Linked DNA regions of Homo sapiens: region 1 is linked to region 2. Evidence: promoter capture Hi-C in 16 types of primary human blood cells and fetal thymus (Javierre and others, 2016). All regions are on one chromosome and are shown on one strand. The core of a region is centred on a gene start or on the middle of the fragment in contact, and the rest is flanking DNA. Distances in the headings are between cores, read along the strand shown.

Region 1 (7,249 bases), core at 1,417-3,916, 4.3 Mb after region 2:
AATAAGTTTAATTGCCCCCAAATCACAACACTAGTAAATGCAAGGTAAGTGTTTTGAGAGTACATTCAGCCAGAAGTTAGATGGCAAAAACACAGGAAGAAGAATGTAAAGTGAGATGCTATCATCAACTGAAAAAAGAGCAAGGAAGAATAGAGGTAGTATAAATACAATGGAGGTACGAATAAAACAAAACGGAGAGGCTGGGACCAAACACTTAGAGAAGGGAATGGAGTTTTAACTAGAGGAATTAAGGGAATTGTTAGATGGAGACCCAGCTAAGGATGGAAAGAATGAATTTACAGAGTATGTCACTTAATTATTAATATAACAGTCAAAAGGGTGACAACAGTCTGAAGGTAACAGTACTGAGGAGAGCAAAGATCACCTGGTGGCCATCGAGCAGACCATCCAGAGGGAAAGCTCCTTATCTGAGGAATTCAGAAACAATTAGACTTCTCTATTAGCTAAAGCCGGCATCTGGTACCAGGATTCTTTCCCAGAAATTTATAAGTAACTAGAATCTCTATACATGTCCAGAATGTATGCATGTCGAAACTCACTGTGCAACTTTTGCTGATATCAAAGCACCAAAATGTCTATAAATGTAATCACTGATCATGACCTACGTGGCTAATATGGTCCAAGTTACCCTTCAGCTTCTGCTTTAAGGTCCATAAATACCCCTAAGAAAAAATCCACTGCGGTGAGCTGTCCTCTCTTGCTGAGGCGCCTGGCTGCACTCTTCTGCAGCACTCTTTCTATCCAATAAAACTTTCCTTTTCAAACCTACGGTGTTGTCGGTAAATTTTTCTTACTACCCTACTACCCCAAGCTGACCACTTTCTGATGCTGGGGCTCTGACACCTCACCCAGCAAGTACTAGTGTGGGGAAGAGGGCCACTCTGAACACTTTGAAAGTAAGGGAAAAAAGAGAAAACAACAAAACACAGGACTTGACAGCCAAGAATGGGGTAAAGAGAGGGAAGTGTTAAGAGAGCTCTAAGGTTTTAAATCTGAAAAATACGGAGAGTGCCATTTGCGAATATGAGAAAACTGTGAAGGGGACAATTTAATAGGAGAGAAAAACACATTTTCTTTTGGATTCACAGGATGAAGTAACAGTGGGACATTCAAATGGAAATGTACACAGACTGTGGATTTACTTGTGGAATTACCAGCATAGTGGCAGCAGAAACCACAACATTAGACGTATTTACCAGATGATAGTTTACAGTAATAATACATGACTATTTTGGGATCAGGCAACCTGAGTAAAGCTTTTCTTCCTTGAAAAATGTGTATTTGCAATACAAACTATATTTTCCATAATATTTCAGGATATTCACATGCCCACTGAAGTATATTTGGGTTTCAAACACGAAACTCTGGTTTAGGGAGAGCGACAGGGGTAGAGCCTTGAGTGCCACCCAGAGCTAGGAAGAGGAAGAAAAGACTCTAAAGGAAACAAAACAGGAGAAAAGCCACCCTGAAAAAATCAGGACACTGAAAACCAAGACAGGACCAAATTTTTTCAAGTAATGGATAATGAACAGAATAAAATACTTGAGTACTGCAGAGAAAGATAAGAACTAAGAAATGACTGGCCAGGTGCGGTGGCTCAGGCCTGAAATCCCAGCACTTTGGGAGGCCGAGGCGGGCGGATCACCTGAGGCCAGGAGTTTGAGAGCAGCCTGGCCAACATGGGGAAACCCGTCTCTACTTAAAAAAATTAGCCGGGTGTGGTTGCGCACGCCTGTAAATCCCAGCTACTCGGGAGGCTGAAGCAAGAGAATCGTTTGAACCTTGCAGTGAGTCGAGATCGCACCAAGGCACTCCAGCCTGGGCGACAGAGAGAGACTCCCAACAACAACAAAAAATGGCAGGACAGGAAGGTGTCTATGGCTCAGCATTCTAACTCTGACCTTTTTACAAATATATATTCCATGAGTGAAGCAATATGCAGCTTCAGCACAACCCCTCTAACTGGGGTAAAAAAAAACAACTCAAAGTACAGGCTGTTCTTGTAACAACTTTGCATGTGAAACAAGTGAATAGCTAAACTAGTGAAACTGGCCCTTTCATTCAACATCACTCATTAAAAGGGCGTTTACAAGATTTTAATTTAGTCCTGATATAGAAATAAAAAAAGAGATCAACATTAAGAAAAAGTTGATTATAATTACGAAATAAAAACATGTTCTTATATTGAAAGGACAACTAATTTGCATAAGCAATTTAACAAAATAGCTAAAATGGGCTTGATACAACTGCCTCACAAGGCATAAGCTCTTAATGTTTCACTGTTTAACAGCATTTTCTTAATACACTGAAACATTTGTCATTTTTGAACTCTCAGAAATTAGGACTGCAGAACCAGGATACAACTGTTTTGGAATTGAAAACAGTATTTTAAGCAGGATTATATGATAGTCCCTTATGTCACAACTCTCCTGAGTTTTTCCTATGAGTCACCATTTTAAAGTTATCATTGTATTAGGCGTGGAAAGCAGGTTCCTTCCAGCACAATGATAGAAATGACACAGGGATAGGAAGCACTGCAACACAGTGATTCATACACCTTATCCACTTAAGCAACAGCGGTCAAGGATAGAATCAAATGTGGATGGGGTCAGAAAGAGATTACTGACAAAAAATATCAGGCAGTAGAATCACCAGGTGCACACTGACAGTCGAGAATGATGTAGACTAGGGAAACCCTCCTGAGAGTGACCAGTTAACTACTGGAGAACACTACAGTCCAGGGGAAGGCAGACAGACTCTGGAAAATTGAGGAGGGAGTCGTGGGGATGGGACAGGGGGAGCAGGGCGGGACCTGCGAAACCAAATACGGTTTGCGCTTCTGGGGCAGCAAAGCCCACGGGGGCGGAGGGCGCCGAGTACCAATGAGCTCCAGGACCTGCGGGCTCCTTCCAGCGCCAGCTCCTCCCCAAAGCCTGGCGTGTCCCCACCCTCTCGCTCGGGAAGTGCCCTCCAAAGAAAGAAAGGACGACCCGGAGCGCCGGACAAGGGTCCAGAACGATCAACCAGCCTCCTATCGTCCCGCCCCTGTCCCCTCGCGGCTACTTACCGGGATGCAGGCCGCAGTCACTAGGGCTGCAGCGGCGACTCGCTCGTTCCCGGCAATGACGTCCACTCCAACCGGCCTGCATCAGCTGAGCTTCCAACACAAACACTGGCGCAGCAGCTAGGTCGCCACCCACTCAGCCCCGCCCCGCTCCGCCCCCAGCGGAAGTGACGCGCTAGAAGTTTGGGTCTACCCGCGGGCCGGGGTGAGGATTTTCCGCCTCGCTCAGGCCTCTGCCTCCTTGTCAATCTCCGTTCCTCCCCCGCCCCGAGATATGCGCAATAGAGCATGACGGAGCGCAAGGCGGGAAGCCGCGACAGACGTGTGTGCGTGCGTGCGTGCGTGCGTGATGCGCGAGGCGTGGCTTGCTGGTGGGGCGTGCTGTGCCTTGGTTGGTTGCCGGGTGTGAGAGCGGTGGGACTTCGTTTTGCCTTCCTGGGCGGGACCTCGGAGCAGTGTCCTGGTTTGCTTGTTTGCGGGCCGCTATTCCCTTTCAGCAGAGATAAGCCTCCCTCTCCGCGTCCCTGAAGCCCCTGCCTGCGCTGAGTTCCTTGGAGCTGGGGGCTGCGATACCAGTCTCTTGGAGGGTGGTGCCCGGCGCGGCCGCGCCCCTTTCTCTATATCCATTCCTGGGCATGGCCACCCAGACTAAATGTCACTCAAAAGCGAGTTGACATATATTACTGTATTGGAAGTTAGCATAAACCGCCCCACAAATGGTCCCACACGTAACACATCTTTTTAAAATTGTGGCATTTCATACGTACCACAGGGGCAAACTACAGCCCTCAGGGCAAATCCAGCCCACCGCAGGTTCTGCTGTACTAGGAGCTAAAAATGGGTTTCACATTTTTCAAAGGTTAAAAAAAAAGTTTTGCGACAGATGACAATTATATGACATTCATATTTGTGTCTGCTTTTTAAAGTTTCATTAGAACATAGCTTTGCATTCCTATACATGCTGTTAATTAAAGCTTTTATACTACAATAGCGAATTTGGGTAGTTGCAATAGCCCCTTACCCTCTTGAAGTGACCTTGCAATTACGTTGAGGTCGGGAAAACAGATCAGTTTCAACTAGTTATCAACCTCAAAATGTTATCAAGACTTATACTGTACTCTCAAGGCTTACCCACTACCCATGGGTATGTATGCTTTAGCCCCCTGTAAGGTTATTGTAAAGTCCTTAAGGAAGGGGATTCTTTGACCTGTCAAATGTAGTGGATGTTACCCTGATAGTTGTGTTGTTTTGATTTTTTTAAATCAAGGAGGGAAAGCCAGCTTGCTATGTTCTTGGGACACAGTGTCTGGATTATGTACATCATAATGCCTGGTAAACCCCAGCAGTGGATAAGCCAGACATGTTATTTAGCTACAGGAGAGTTAAAAGATGTATGCACCAATTAAGCCTTACAGGCGTGTGGAAGGAGCTTTAGTTTTTGAGACAGATTCCTCCTTGTTGCTAAAGAAAAATTATTCTGACACTTGTTAAAATGTCAAGGAAGACATTTAGAACTATTGCAATAGGTGCCATGACTATCACCATGGGGGAGAGAGATTGGCCTCAAGTTTTAATACAACAAAAACAGCTAGGATTTATAACCAGCAAGCAGACTGAGGGGTCAGTTCATGGAAAATTACTAAGAAGTGATATCAAGGGTCGGGGATATTCTTGTTAAAGTGACTTACAAGATTCTTGCTGAAGACAGGCGGAGATGATCAATTATCAAGGCTAGGAGATACTCTCTAAACTGACTTTGCAAGATTCTTGCTAAAACTGGACTCAGCAGGCCTAAGACAGGGGCCCAAGGATGAGGCCTAGTTGGGAAGAGGGCTCAGAGGAGCCTAACTAAAGTATGGTCAAGGAGAGAGCACCACCATTCCCTCTCCGCTTATGCTCTTTCATCCCCTAATTTAGTCAGATGTTATTAAATATCCAGATTTTCCTCCCATGTCAGAAATTTTCAAATAACGCCCAATTCCTGCTTCTCCATTCTTATCCTTCCTCTCCCTCCCTTGTCTACCACCATACCTTTAATCAGTCATGAAGTCTGATGAGTTTTACCGCAGAATTTCTTGAATCGTTCCTCTGCTCCACATTCGCATTTCCACTGCTCTAGTTCAGGCTTTCATCCTTGCTCTTCAGTTTCATCTAAACTGGTTTTCCAGCCTGTAACTAACCTCTGACCCAGTCAGTCTCTTCTGTGCAACCACGGTAATCTTTTGAAAGTGCAAGTCCAATCGTGTTTTCCCGAATTAAAAAGCTTTTGCTGGCTGTACATCTTCACAGAATATACCGAATGAAATTATAGGTTCTGACCCTGCTGACCTTCCAGCCTTTACTTTCACCACTTGCCTCTCACTCTCTATCCTCCAGCCACACCTGTACTTCCCCAGATACTCTTGTTCCTTTTCATACTTAGTGCCTTGGTCATGCTGTTGGCTTAGCTCCCCTTCCACCTTGTCCTCCTAAAGATTTGTTTGTCCTTCAGCCAGGAAAATCTTACCTCACTACTCATAGAATGAATCATTCCTTCCACCTGTGCTCACTTCTCTTATTGCCCTTGCTGCACAGTATTATAATTTATTTGTTTATATGCCTGCCAGTTTCCTGCAGTCAAGGAGCGTAAGGTAAACTGTATTGTCTGGATCTAGCGTAACATCCAACAAATAGTAGACTCTCTAAAATTCTGTATTATTGAATTGATTTTTAGTTTCATTTAGATTACTAGTTTGATAAGTTAAAAATGGAAAATAAAACCCATTTATGATTCTTTTGATGTTGGGCAGTTTTGAGACAAAAGAGAATTATATTTAATTTCAAACAAATTCAGTAGTATGCAAAATTGGAGATTATCTTGTGTATAATAGCAGACTAATGCCTTCAGGAAATCATCTATACTTGAAATAATGCTAAATACAGTAATTGTTCAACGCTATATTCTTTGGAAGCTGGGTAAAAGAGACATCACATTGCCCTGTATCAGTTACTTGCTATGCTCATTCTATTTATAAGGTTTATTATTGATTTATCTATTTTAGCTCTTCTACATCCATAGTCACTCCTTTCTGGTCTGGTTCATAGCTTTTTAAAAGAGCTGCTAATATCTTTATTGTTCAAATAAAACTTAACATTATAACCAAAATAAATTAAGCCATATTGGTGCAAGATATCTCTCCAGATCACCTAAGGGAGGGATATGCCAGAAAATAATTCTAGAAGAATAATCACCATGGTAGGCTGAAGAATGGCCTTCTAAAAAATGCCCATGCCCAAATCCTTAGAACCTGTGAATATGCTACTTTACATGGCAAAGGGGACTTTTTGCAGATGTAATTAAGGGTACAGATTTTAAGAAAGGAAAATAATCCTGGATTATCTCTGTGGGCCCAATCTAATCACATAAATCCTTAAAATCAGTACAGATGTGGCAAAGCGAAAGTCAGAGAGATCAAGATAATGAGAGGAACAATTTGACAAGGAATGCAGGTTGCCATAGGGAACCAAGAGCGGCTCCTGACTGACAGCCAGCAAGGAAATGGAGACCTCAGCCACACAGCCGCAAGGAGTTGAATTCTGTCAACAACCTAAATAAAACTGAAAGCACACTCTTCCCCAGAGGTACCAGACAAAAGCTCAGGTAAGCTGACACCTTGATTTCACCCTTATGAGACCTGGAACAGAGGAACCAGTCAACTCTTGCTGGACTTCTGACCTACAGAACTGTGACATAATAAACTTGAGTTGTTTTAAGCCACTAAATTTGAAGTGTTTTGTTTCAGCAGCAATAGGAAATTAATATAATTATCTTTATATAGTTTGAAAACATGAAAGCAAGGATTTTCTGTTTTGATCCTTAGCACCAAGGCACAGCAATTATTAATAAAGTGTGGCCCGGAGCGTTGGCTCATGCCTGTAATCCCAGCACTGTGGGAGGCAGAGGCGGGTGGATCACCTGAGGTCAGGCGTTGGAGACCAGTCTGGCCAACATGGTGAAACCCCATCTCTGCTAAAAATACAAAAATTAGCTGGGCGTGGTGGCGGGCACCTATAATCCCAGCTACTCAGGAGGCTGAGGCAGGAGAATGGTTTGAACCCGGGAGGAGGAGGTTGCAGTGAGCCGAGATCGCGCCAATGCACTCCAGCCTGGGTAACAGGGTGAGG
Region 2 (6,257 bases), core at 3,079-5,578:
AAAGATAAATTCAGCTCATGAAAGGTCTTATACAATGGGCGAATTACTTGAACACTGTCCTGAAAATATTAAGATTTGCATGGCCTAGCTGCTGGGTGAAGATTGCAAATAAGAGGCTTACAGAAATACATGGAAAAAAAACAATGGTAAATGAAAATCCTAGCAGCAATGGCTAGGATTAAAGGTAGATGGAGACATGATTTTAACAATGTGAAGCAACAGACTAAGTTTATTGATGTGATTTACTAAATGAGGGAAGATGAGGAAAGAGTTAAGAAAGTGCAAGTTTGGACAACTGTGTCAATGACAGTAGACCATTCATGGAGAAAGATAATATGGGAAGGAGAGTAATGTAAAGGTGGTATGTTCAATTTTGCATTTGTGGAGATTCACAATTATCAGTACCAATATTATACACTAAAAATGGCAAAGAAATATTTAATATTTTTATTCTTACCTCTAAAGTTTTCAACAACGTTTGTGTTACATAGGTCTTTCCACTAGCAGTATGTCCATAAATAAAAATGGATGGAAAGCTGAAATGATGTCTCTAACGAGAGAAAAGACAAATATGAGGCTGCACATACAAAATAGAAAATAAACACTTATCAACTTGTGAGAAAGTTGTACGTGGAAAAGTGAAATATTCAATCCAAATTCCTAACAATGAGCATATTGTGGATGCATCAACACACTTTGAACCTACTTGAATTCAACTCTAAGCACTTTCTTTGTTATGAAATTAAAATGTATGTAACATATTTGGCATATTTTATTATGTACTATATATTTATATTTTTATTATCGTACAGGTTTACATATACAAACTAGTATTTTCAACTTCATAGCAGATTTAAGAGATTTTTCAAGGATAATTTTGTTCATACTCCATTTTTATATTACTCCTTCTTAAAGACTCTTATCTCCTGCGATGCCACAACTTCACTATACATTTTAATGCTATGAAATAAAGTACATATAATCAAAAGATTAAAAGGAATTTCAAGGGTCCTCATTCTTAGGAAAACTTATAGACTACTTCTGAACTATGCATACTCACTGATGCTGGCATAAATGCATACATTAGATCACATAAAACACTAATAAAATCTGCATAGCATTTATTTTAAAATACATATGTGCAAGATCCTCTTGCAGTACATTAGGTTAGCAGCTTAGAGAAAAGTAAATATTGTCAAAGGTCTCTCTGGTCTAGTTAATACTACAAATACTTGTACTTCATTCCTTAAATGAACGCTTTCATTAGATACCTACTAAATGCTGAAAACCATGAGGTACTGAAGAGAACAAATAACAGTAAAAGACATTATCTACTTTGGAGGAAATTATAGTCTACATTTTTAAAATAATTACGGGAAAACTTGATTTTTTAATAATACTCTTTTTTTTTTTTTTTTTTTTTGAGATGGAGTCTCACCCTGTCACCCAGGCTGGAGTGCAATGGCGTGACCTCGGCTCACTTCAACCTCTGCCTCCCGGGTTTAAGCGATTCTCCTGCCTCAGCCTCCTGAGTAGCTGGGATTACAGGTGTGTGCCACCACACCCAGCTAATTTTTGTATTTTTAGTTAAGACGGAGTTTCACCATGTTGGTCAGGCTGGTCTCAAACTCCTGACCTTGTGATCTGCCTGCCTCAGCCTCCCAAAGTGCTGGGATTACAGGTGTGAGCCACTGTGCCTGGCCTATTTTTTAATAATACATTTTTTTAAATAATTACAAGAAAATGGGATTATGCAATTTCTATCAGAAAGTTAAGTCTCTATTAATTATCATCGATTACAGCAACAGTCACAAACATTTATTACATTCAAGTCACTAAGTTAAACATTTCCTTTTACAAGACAAATCAGGAACTCAGATTTACGCAGGAAAAAGACTTTCTAAATGGCATACAGCTATGGCAAAAGCAGCTCAACTGCTAAAAATAGACTAAAAATTTACTTGAAATGAATAGGTAATGTAATACATGAATCTTTTTCTGAAGTTTATATGTAACAATCATAAATTAACTGGCCCAAAAATTCTGTCTCAGCAGGATGCAGTGGCTCAAGCCTGTCATCCCAACACTTTGGGAGGCCAAGGCAGGCAGATCACTTGAGTTCAGGAGTTCGCCTGGGAAATACAGTGAAACCCCATCTCTACAAAAAACACAAAAATAGCCAGGCTTGGAGGCAAACACCTGTGGTCCCAGCTACTCGGAGGCTGAGGTGGGCGGACTGCTTGAGCCTGGGAGGCAGAGACTGCAGTGAGCCAAGATCATGCCACTGCACTCCAGCCTGGGAAAGAAAGCCAAACCCTGTCTCAAAAAACAAAAACAAAAAATTCTGTCTCAAGAATTAAATGCATGTTGCTGAGTATCTCTGCTATCCATTACATGTTGTTGCCTAATAATACCTTAAACATCTTTTCTATTGTGACCTAGAATTATATTGAACTGTTCCACTGTTATTTAACCTTTCACCTTCATAAATCTCGCTAACATAAACTGCAATAAGCTAGTACCTGACACAGAAAAGGTGCTCGGTAAATATTTATTTATTGAACAAATAAATGAGTATTCTTAGAAACATGAACCAATTTTTTATATTTCTTTGCTATAGTTGTTTGTATTTCCCACATGCACAGCACCTTGCAGAAAACTGATATTAAAATATTGTTAAACATAATTTTCATTAAAAGCAAAGGTCAAAAACTCTTCTGTGATCCACCACTAAGTTTACTCATCCCTATTTGCCAATTTGCTCTTTCAGCAGGAACATTTCTGGCTGGAGTGATCTGCGTTCCATAGATGAAATGCAGAGAACATAATCAAGAAAATGCTCCAGTAATAATATAACTATAATTGAAAGCAGTATAAATAGAAAATTAATTGAAGATGCAGTTGTTGACCTCTAACTTCCCTAAATAATGCACCCCTTTAGACAGAGGGTAGTACTTTTCCACTAATGCTTCACAGGCCACCTCAAATTGCCATGCAATATTTCTAGTTGGATGAAAGTACAGTCACGTGTACATTCAAAGATGGACCACATATACAACAGTGATCTCATAAGATTATAATACCCTATTTTCACTGTACCTTTTCTATGTTTAGACACTTTTAGATGCAGACTTATCACTGTGTTACAACTGCCTACAGTATTCAGTATAGTAGCACCGCTGTAGAGGTTTATAGCCTAGGAGGAACAGGCTACACCATACAGCCTAGGTGTATAGCAGGCTACACCATCTAGGTTTGTGTAAATACACTTTCTGATATTCACAGGGATTAAATTGCCTAACGATGCATTTCTCAGGACGTATCCCCCTCACTAAGTGGCAGCAACGCATGACTGTACTTAAAAAAGCAAACCAGAAGATGGGGGTATGAGTATGACCCTGAATTCTCATTCACTCTCTTCGCAGGTAAGATCCAAGTTTGATTAATTCCAATTCTGATTGAGTCTGAATCAAAAAGCACATCAAAGACCACCAGAAAATAGTCAAAAATAGGTTAAATTTTGAATTGGTGAACGCTACCCTCTGCCTATTGAAAGGACTCCCTACGTATCTATGTTCATCCAGACAAGACAAACTCCTCTCTAGGGCATCCTGTGAACTATCAGTTAAGGAGAAAAGTTTACCCTAGACCTCTTCTGGACTGTTACAATTCTGGAAAAGCCAGTAAATTTTTAAACCTGAAGCACTGCTTTGGCCCTTAGTGGCCTTGAAAGCAACCACCTCTCTACACTTGACTCACTCCAACTACCGCACAGAAACGTGTGAACTTACATTTGAATAAATAACACCCTGCAAACACATCTGTTACATAAATGTCATTGGGTTGGGGTAAGATAACAAGCAACTTCTAGGAGCTAATGTGGGCAAACTTCTGAAAAGTGTGGCGTGTTTCAAATACGTCTTAGGCAACGTCCTATAGTGCAGGCCGGTCGCTCTCAGACTGTCTCCTCTTCAATATTCGGAAGAGACTGTGGGTGAAGCTGCAGTACAGAACCACAACACCCCTATTTAACGTAAAAACGGCCTTTTGGCCCTCAATCCAAACACGAAAAAACAAATATTGGAACAGGTCGCAAGACTACCGAAACGTCTGCCTCCAGGATCTGGAAGACAGTTTAACTACAATACCTCTCCAAACAAGGACTGCAAGATGGACACTTGAGACTCGCGACAAAGCACCACGTTTTCCAAGTGGGGCATTCTGGCAGGCACCACCGCAGAGGCCAGTGCAGCCAGCCCACAGGACCCTTGCACAAGACGGAGCCTCTCCCGAGTCTGGCGGCCCACGCTCCCGCCGGAAACCGGACCCGCAGCGTCGTGGGAGGAGCCTGCGCTGCCGGGCTGCGGCGTGACGGCAGCGCGTACGCCGAGCGTCGCCGCCGCTCTAGTCTCAGGGCCGGAACCATCCTCTTCTCGCTGGTCCTGTGCGCGCCGAGGTTTTGCCCATTCTTGGGCTTGGTGGGGATTTCGGGCTGACGCTTTTTCCACTCAAAGGCTAAGGAGACGACATGGAGATGGGCGAATAGGGAAGGGGTGGAAGGGGTTAAGGGGGTCCCGTGGGCCTCCAATGACCCCTGAACCCCGTGCCTTTAGTTTTACCGGCTGGAAGCCCCAAGTTTAGAAACCTTGAGTGCCTAAGAAGACGGACCCGGAGCTGGGGCCCTTAGAGGGACGTGGAAGGCGGACTTAGAAGACTAATATTGTCAAAAGATGTTTTTGTTGTCGTTTTTTTCCCTGACGACGTTGTGGGAAATTAGTGGCATTGAGTACAAAACAGGGTGTAATGGGGTTTAATGCACAGCTTGGAATTACTATTTTTTGTGCAAGCTTTAAACCAGATGTGGAAAGCCTCTCAGTCCTAATGGGATGAAGTCGTAGTGTGTGTTGGTGAGGTTGATAGTAAAAATAATGCTACTTTTAGCATTAGGCTTTCACGTGTATTTATTTGTGAGGCACCTACTAGCGACTAAACACTAGAAGATTCTGGAAATAAGATACAGAAGTAGGCAAGTGCATGGTGGAAAGAGAGCTTGGCGTCCTGAAACCCCTGGGTTGGGACCACTGACTGACTCAACTGCTGAATAGGGGGACTTTGGAATAGTTGAGCCTCAACTTCCTTATCTATAAAATAGGGATAATACTGGCTAGGTTATTGCTAGGAGTAGAAGATCCTGTACATACTACCTGTTATACATAAATTTAAATTGTGGACTTCAATCTGCCCATAGATTGTAGATCAGTCTTAGATTTGTGATGGTCAAAAGGATCTTTTGAGAGTTGTGGTATATAACGTATTAGCTAGTCAAAATAGTATTTTCACAGCAACAATTCAAAAGCATTTGCCCAGGTACTTTTTAATAGAGAATTCTAAAGGTTATAATGGGACCACCCATTAAATTTCAATGTCTCCAAGGGAAGCTGGCCTCTGATACTCTCCTAAGATGGTTATACGTCCGTAACATACTGTGCATATAAGGTATACATATATTATAATCATAACACGACATCTTTATAGCATTCAATAAAACTGACTAAACTGTCTAAAATGTTAGTCTCCCTCTCTATATACTTTATGAGGACAGGAAACACTGTCTTCACAGTTCAATTTCCAGCATACACAGTTAACGCCTGGCAGTTACATAATAAAGATAATTGTTGATCTGAGAGAACATGCCTTACCATCTGGATGATTTAGGATGGTTTCTCAGAGGAGAGAACCTGGAAGCTGAGGCTGAAGAAAAGATTCACCTGTGAGACCAAGAAGGAAATTGTAAACAAAAGAATGTACAGACAAAAAGGGACAAATGGGCAATCCCATAACTGAAACTAGCAAATAGTTTTTACATATAAACCTGGAGAGTAGTAGGAGGTCAGGCTGGGGACCAATAAAGAATTGTAGGCAGAGAAGCAAATGTTGAGATTTGACTTAGAAATATTCCTTCTGGCTACAGTGTGGAAAGTGGAATCAATTTCATTTGTTGAAACGACTATTGCAGTCTCCCAAACAGTGAATAATAATGGCCTCGATAGGCAGCCAAGATGGCCGAATAGGAACAGCTCTGGTCTACAGTTCCCAGCATGAGTGATGCAGAAGACGGGTGATTTCTGCATTTCCATCTGCGGTACTGGGTTCATCTCACTACGGAGTGCCAGACAGTGGGCACAGGATAGTGGGTGCAGTGCACCGTGCACGAGCCAAAGCAGGGCGAGGCATTGCCTCACTCAGGAAATGCAAGG

The links. The method cuts DNA at HindIII sites, captures the fragments that hold promoters and counts their contacts. A CHiCAGO score of 5 or more calls a contact.
Region 1: a fragment that was not itself captured here is called in contact with the fragment with the promoter of ORC5 in region 2 in 1 of 17 cell types (naive CD4 T cells); the score reaches 5.5 in naive CD4 T cells.

What each region holds. Positions count from the first base shown.
Region 1 is chr7:108,522,941-108,530,189 of GRCh38, forward strand. PNPLA8 (patatin like domain 8, phospholipase A2) reads right to left here and starts at 3,195. Exons shown (of 11, transcript NM_001256007.3): 1 at 3,089-3,195. It overlaps LOC124901722 (a long non-coding RNA gene), which reads left to right and starts at 3,535. Exons shown (of 2, transcript XR_007060473.1): 1 at 3,535-4,705; 2 at 6,511-6,842. RefSeq lists enhancers at 1,117-1,652, 2,332-3,292, 3,064-3,183, 3,474-3,813. The HindIII fragment of the contact is 2,782 bases long and covers 1,276-4,057 here.
Region 2 is chr7:104,203,685-104,209,941 of GRCh38, forward strand. ORC5 (origin recognition complex subunit 5) reads right to left here and starts at 4,329. Exons shown (of 14, transcript NM_002553.4): 1 at 4,149-4,329; 2 at 458-550. The coding sequence starts at 4,220. RefSeq lists enhancers at 3,988-4,177, 4,218-4,297, 4,348-4,507. The HindIII fragment of the contact is 7,936 bases long and covers 1-4,845 here.